2 separate regions of the Homo sapiens genome follow, and region 1 is linked to region 2. The links are contacts of gene promoters, found by promoter capture Hi-C in blood cells and fetal thymus (Javierre and others, 2016). All regions are on one chromosome and are shown on one strand. Each heading gives the region's core, a stretch centred on a gene start or on the middle of the fragment in contact. The rest is flanking DNA. Distances are from core to core; before and after follow the strand shown. Region 1 overlaps PMP22 (peripheral myelin protein 22). Region 2 holds the start of ZSWIM7 (zinc finger SWIM-type containing 7).

What was found. Contacts are between HindIII fragments. The CHiCAGO score rates a contact against its expected background, and 5 or more counts as called.
Region 1: a contact is called between a fragment that was not itself captured here and the fragment with the promoter of ZSWIM7 in region 2, in 1 of 17 cell types (erythroblasts). The highest score is 6.5, in erythroblasts.

Annotation. Positions count from the first base shown.
Region 1 is chr17:15,241,267-15,244,806 of GRCh38, reverse strand. All of the region lies in intron 3 of PMP22 (peripheral myelin protein 22), which reads left to right. Among named protein-coding and RNA genes, the nearest start is that of MIR4731, 8.7 kb to the left of the region's middle. The HindIII fragment of the contact is 1,476 bases long and covers 974-2,449 here.
Region 2 is chr17:15,997,312-16,000,955 of GRCh38, reverse strand. ZSWIM7 (zinc finger SWIM-type containing 7) reads left to right here and starts at 1,252. Exons shown (of 5, transcript NM_001042697.2): 1 at 1,252-1,437. The coding sequence starts at 1,362. TTC19 (tetratricopeptide repeat domain 19) reads right to left here and starts at 1,132. Exons shown (of 10, transcript NM_017775.4): 1 at 924-1,132; 2 at 711-838. The coding sequence starts at 1,107. RefSeq lists silencers at 779-1,168, 1,519-1,678 and an enhancer at 1,289-1,378. The HindIII fragment of the contact is 18,071 bases long and covers 1-3,644 here.

The DNA.
Region 1 (3,540 bases), core at 462-2,961, 760 kb after region 2:
GGGGAACCCACTGACATCAATTTGACACAACTTTGGCTCTTTCTCTACGAATATTTGCATGCCTGTGGATGTCTATACGCAATTACATAGTTTTTTGGTGTTTGTTTTCATAATGATGACATGTTGTGTGTGCACCTTACTCTTTTCATTGTCTTGGAGACCTTTCAAAGACTCTTCATTTTCTAACTCATGATTTTTTTAACTGCTGCAAAATATTTCATTGTGAGGATATACCATAATTTATTTTCCCTCATAGAAATGCTACAATCAATGTCCTTATTTATTTTCCTCTGAGTATATGTTCACTGTTTTTCCAGGATATAGTAGATAAGCACTTGAACACATATAGTGTCATTACGCTAGAGGTGTTACAATTTTTAAACTACTTTTAATGGCAAAAATTACAATTACTTTTGTATCAACCTAATATATTCTGCCACAAAATGGCTGGTCACAAAAGGATTATAATAATAATATTATTATTATTCCTGTGAATGGTGTCTGCAGGTAGCTATCACTTATTTGTTCTGCTGATATTATCCATTTTTTTTGAATTTTGCCTATTGGCTGGATGAAAATTGGTGTCACCCTCCTCATGGGTTTCTCTTGCATTTCCTTGGTTGCTAGTGAGGTTGGGCACCTTTTACGATGTTTATTGGCTGTTCATATTTCTCCTTTGCTAATCACATGGCTTTTCAATTTTATACTTAGCTGTTTTCTCTTTGTTCTGTCTGTAATTTAATTTTGTTAATGATGCGAACTAGAGATTTAATTTTATGTTTTACCAAATGAATAGCCAACACTATGTATTGTCTGTTGTATTTTTCCCCACTGGTTTATATGATGTTGTGTATTATCTACCAAATTTACATGTATGCTTCCAAAGTCTTATTCCATCCCATTCTTTTATTTTTCTTTCATGATTAACACCATATTTTTGAATTGCTAAAACTTTATAATATAAATATAAGCTTTGTATGTCTATAAATAAAATACATTTTATTAATTATAATTATATGTTATATAATTATAATATAAGCACTTGAACATATATACTTCTATAATTATATATTATATAATTATATATCATACTTCTATGATATGTTCTATAATTATATATTGTATATATCATAGTTCTATGATATGTTCTATAATTATATATTATAAAGTTACAATTAATTGTATATTTAATTTATACCATATACTGTAATAAGCAAAATATAGAAATATGTTTTAAATCTGGTAGGTGGTATCTTGACTCATTGGTTTTATATGTTTTTCTGATTTTCTTTTTGTTCATTTGTTCGTTTTGGTTTTTAGTTGCTGTTGTGTTTACTTCAAATTTTTTCTTATCTGTCATTGCTCATTGTTTTTTAGATGAATTTTTAATTGATTTTTTTCCAGTTCCAGTTGCAATATGGATTAGGACAGCATTGAATTTGTAGATTATTTTGGATGAAATTGGCATCTTTATAACTTTGAGTGTTTCTATCCAGGAACTTAGTATGTTTCTTTAGTACTTCTTTTATGTACTTGAATAAAATTTGTCTAACTTGTTGATGTATCCCCAAAGAACCAGACATTTTTATTAAATGTATTTTAATATTTTTTTCTGTCTCATTAGTCTGTGCTTTTATCCATATTAAGTCAATTAATTTTTGGACTTATTTCATTGTTTTTTTTCTGGCTTCTTGAGTTGAAAGTGTAGTTCACTCTTTTTAAGGATTTTTCTAGCAAATGCTTAGAAGTGTATACATTGTCCTCTGAGAACTGCTTTGGTTACAACCCACAGGTGTGCCATGTGGCTCTCTATATAATTCCTTGCTGAAGAAGTTTTTACTTTTCATCTTGTTTTTTTTAATCCGAGGAATTATCTGGAACACTGTTTTTAAATTTCCAAATTTATTTTGGCTAGTTTGTTTTTAATGTCTAATTTCTGTTTGCCTTTAGGTATATGTTGAGCCTACATCATTTCTGCTTCTATATTTATTGAGATATTCTTTGTTGCCCTTATAGTCAGTTTGAAAAGCTGTCCCATGTGTGTTTGAAAATAACTTTGCTATATAGACACAAGTTTTCTATACATCTATTAGGACAGATTTGTTAATCCTCTTATGTAATCTATATTCTTTCTTCTTTTTGGTCTACCTGACATCTATTTTGAGGAAGGAAGCTAAAGTCTTCTACTGTTATTGTGATTTTAACAATTTCTTCTCATATTTTGATTACTTTTTGATTTTAACTTTTTCAGGCCATGTTATTATATGCATAATGATTTATTTTCTTCAGTCATAGATCATGTAAACCAGAAGTAAAGATCAAATAAACCAAATCTTTCCTCTATGAAACAACCAAACAACTCTCTGGCCACTTTTATCCTTTCAACATAAGTTCTATTTTTTATTATTAATTTATCTTCTTTCTTTTTTGTTAACATTTGCCTGAAGCTTCTTTTCAGAATCTTTTTTGTTTTTGACTGTTGCTTGTTTTAGGTGTATCTATTATATTAGAATATAGCTACAATGTCTCTCTTTTTTTTTTTTTTTTTTTTTTTTGAGACAGAGTCTCTCTCTGTGCCCAGGCTGGAGTGCAGTGGTGTGATCTTGGCTCACTACAACCTCCACCTCCTGAGTTCAAGCGATTCTCTGCCTCAACCTCCCAAGTAGCTGGGACTATAGGTGTCCACCAGCACACCTGGCCAATTTTTTTGTATTTTTCGTAGAGATGGGGTTTTGGCATGTTGGCCAGGCTGGTCTTGAACTCCTGGCCTCAAGTGATCTACCTGCCTCAGCCTCCCAAAATGTCTTAATCAAAGATAAAATTCCATATCTTATGAGTGCCTTGAACCCATTCACATATAATGTGGTTGATGATAGACTTACTATCTTAATGCATGTGTTTTATTTATTGTGCTTATGGTTGAAAACCATCTTCTTCATCTCTGGATCATCAGAGTCAACCAGAGGGCTTGGCTCAAAGCAGTAGGTATTCAACAAATGCTCATTGAATAAAAATGTCCTTGATCCTCTAATTCTGATTTGATTCGAGAAATAACTTATGGCAAAGAGCTCAATTGTAATGGGGTTGGGACTAAAATTCAAGTTAATGTTGAAAGATGTTTCAAGAAGTATTTAGGTTATATTATTAAATATTAGACACTTTCTGTTTATATAGATTTAACATATAAAGATTTTAAGTTTTCTGTGTATGTGAGGTCTCGTAGTAGTTTCTGCTGAAAATGACAGGGGCGCGGGGTTAAGGGTGAAGACAGTATCTCAGGATTGGAGAAGGAAATCTAAGATATTGTCTCCACCAGCCATACTCCTCATGAACATGCACATGGAAGGACATTTCCCAGCCAAAGTGAATCCCTTTATTTGTTTTAGTTTCAGATTTGAGTCTCAGATTTCTTTGTAATTCCAGCTGCATCTACCAAAGTGCTAGATAATTTTTTTATTTTAAGCAAACAATATTATGAGAACATTATCTTTATTGCAAAGTGCTCCTCCAGAAGAACCTCTATGCTGGATAAAGACAAAC
Region 2 (3,644 bases), core at 3-2,502:
TGGAAGGCAATGGTAAGGTACCACAAGTTTTAAGAATGACTATGAGGTTTTTAGGCTGAAAAACTGATGGTAGTAAAGAGATGGCGAAAGCGTATGTTGAGGAGGCATTAAAGATCGTTTAGTTTTGGGCATGTTAAATCTGAGAGGTAGGTATGGTCCTAAAGTGCAAATGGCATGTCAGTAGCACACTACAGAATGGAAATACAAATTTGGACGTTGTTGGCATCGAGTAGGTATTTAGCTCAATGGAAGAGATGAGATAACTTGGGAAAAGAGGAGGAAAAAAAAATAGAAAAGGATGTGGAGAAAAGGAAGAATTCAGGAGGAGAACCGAACCGCATAACCAACACTAAGTTGCCATTTTCAGGCCGCTATATACGTGCGAAATTATGTCATTTCAGATAGGCTGGTTAATTGATAAAACCACTACAAAACGTTCCCGATATTTCGTTTGCATAAAGCGTGATGCCTAGGGCGCCATCTCCATTTGCACTTGACACTGCAGAGGTTTTACTGCAGGCCTTAGAGTCGGAAAAGCCTGGATGGATTCCAATCCCCTCTCGGATGACCCACCTCATTCTCGGCAATTTTACCCGCGGAGCCTCCATCCACTCTTCGGCGAGGCGGAGAGAGTAATGCGCAGCAACGCCAAGACCCCGCTCACAAAGGCTACCGCGCTCGGCCGGGCGCAGGGCCCGGAGCCGCCTCACCTTGGCTCGCTTCAGCAGCTGGATGATCTCTGCCTCGGCCTCGTCCGCCCCGTCCTCGGCAGCGGCCCCGTCGGCTCCCTGCTGCTCCTCCTCCTCTGCCGCAGCGGGCCTCGAGAACCAGGCGAGCGCTGCGGGAAGGGGCTCTGAGGTCATCGGGCCCGGCCCGCGCCCCTGTCCCCGCCCGGCCGGCCCCGCCCGGCCCGCGCCCCTCACCTGCCAGCAGCGGCAGCAGGCCTGGGCCCCGGCCGTGCGGCGCGACTCGGGATGGCGGCACCTGCACCTCGGGCCCCGGACCTCCTGCCAGCCCCGGGAGCAGGCGCGCGGAGCAGCCCCGGCACCGCCGCCCCGCGGCCCGCAGGAAGCCTCGGCCCAGGCTCCAGCTCAGGAGCCGGAACATGCTCCCGCCGCGTCCTCTGCGCACTGCAGGCCAGACGCGCTCCTGGCCCCCGACCACGCGCCGAGCGCCCTCCGGATTGGCCGGGCCCTGACGACTGAGCAGGACATCCCTGCGTCCGCACGCGCGATGACGCGCCCCGACGTCACTCCGTCTCGCCCTGCCCCGGCGGGGGGTCAGGATCCTCCACAGGTAGGCGCAGTCAGCTGGAGCGTCGCGGCGGTCCGCCGGTCGTGGAGGGCGTGTCCTGCGGCGCGATGGCCGTAGTGTTGCCGGCGGTTGTGGAGGAGCTCCTGAGCGAGATGGCGGCGGCGGTGCAGGAGAGCGCGCGAAGTACGGGACCGAGGTCGTGTGTGGCTGCGCCATGGGCGCGGGCGGGGCATCCGGGCACCGCCGGGCCGGGAGGCAGGAGGCGGGGTGTCCGGGCCTGGCCCTGCCTTTTTTCCATGTGGTTCTCTAAACCTCTTGTTCGTAAAAAGACAAAAAAACAAAACAACAAAAAAGCGAAATTGGAACAAGTAAAAGTCAAATCGATTCAGCAAATATTTACGGTACAGCGCAGTTGCAGGAGCCCCTCCGTCGGAGCGAGTAGGCCAGTGGGGACCGAAGTGCTGAGAGCTGGCCGGGTCGCTGGGAGGGGTCCCCGCCCGGGGGTGGAAGGGACGGGAGCCTACAGTGAGTGATAGAAACGTGGAGTTCTTGATTATTTTACACGAAATTTTGAATTATTAAACTTCTTTTTCTCAAATTCTGATGTTAACATTAAAGTTAATGCTTCCATACACTTTAAAAAGTAGGCCCAGCGCAGTGGCTCACTCCCGTAATCCCAGCACTTTGGGAGGCCGAGGCAGTTGGATTACCTAAGGTCAGGAGTTCGAGACCAGCCTGGCCAACATGGTGAAACTTCGTCTCTACTAAAAATACAAAAAATTAGCTGGGCGTGGTGGCGGGCGCCTGTAATTCCAGCTACTCAGGAGGCTGAGGCAGGAGAATCGCTTGAACCCGGGAGGCGGAGGTTGCCGTGAGCCGAGATCGCGCCATTGCACTCCAGCCTGGGCAACAAGAGCGAAATTCCATCTCAAAAAAAAAAAAAAAAGCATTTTAAGAGCCACAAAACCTAAATGCATATGCAATCGTTGGAGTAAATCTGGGTATTGTGAAAGCACCATTTTTTTTCTGACCAGCAGAGGGTACTCTTTGGCTATGCTCACCAAAATCACTTGAGAAGGGTTGATCTCAAGATGTGTTCAGAGTATGCTAGGATAAGATCAAATCAAATTTGATATACTCAAAATGCATTGACTAATGAACTACTCTTAGGATGTAAAAATGGCCACCTTATAAATAACAGCCATATCAGGCCCCCAAACTGCCATCGCTTATTCAACTTGGATGGCTTTTGTTTTAAAAGTACTGTACTGCATTTTGAAAGGGTTTATCTTGAGTTACTGTTTTTAAGGAACTGAGAAAAATAAGCCAACTTTGTTTCCTCATCTCAGTCAAAATTAAGGAGACTTAAGTATATGTGCTTGAAAGATTAGTGCAGCCAAGTATTCAAACATACTTGTTTCCAAAAAGGATGGGAAAAAAGCCAACTGATGTTAGCTTATACAATTGTTCTGGGCTCTCAGATTTGATGGCCTGAGGGTTTGGAATGCTGTCACTTTAAACAATAATCGCCAGAACTGTTCTGTGTCTGAATAGGTTAATCCATACACTGACAGTAGTTTGGGTTGGTTTGTTTTTTTTTTTTAGACAGAGTCTTGCTCTGTCTCCCAGGCTGGAGTGCAATGGGCGATCTCAGCTCAGTGCAACCTCCGCTTCCCAAGTTCAAGTGATTCTCCTGCCTCAGCCTCCCAAGTAGCTGTGACTACAGGCGCATGCCACCACACCCGGCTAATTTGTGTATTTTTAGAAGAGACGGGGTTTCACCATATTGGCCAGGCTGGTCTCAAACTCCTGACCTTGTGATACGGACACCTCAGCCTCCCAAAATGCTGGGATTACAGGCGTGAGCCACCGTGCCCAGCCAGTTTTGGGTTTTTTCCCTCCAACAAGAAGGTTCACAAGACACATTGACAGTCCTGAAGGGGGCATAATCATTGCCCCTGACACCCATGGTTCAGACACAGGAACCAATGCTGTTGATTCATGTTTATTTTCAGAAGCCCTGTTTTCTGTCTTTTTCAAAATCTTTTTTCTATTAATATATAGTTATGCACCCTTCCTAACCCCCATTCTTCAGTGGTAATTTTTTTAGATCAAGATTCCAAGTTTTATTTGTATGATGATATATAAACTAGTCACAGTGGAACCATGTAGGAAGCTATGATTACTTTTTGTTTTCTTTGTAACTTTTGGATTTCCCTGGAGTTACAACTATCTTGGTTTTGTTTATGTGCTTATTTAGTTTTTTACATATTTATTCCTACTTTAACCTCACATCCTTTACTAGTGTTCTCAATCTCCCCTCAAGATGTTCAGATGAACGAAGTATGTTATCAGTTTCACCTTCCTGAAGACATCTCTAGAGCCTTCGG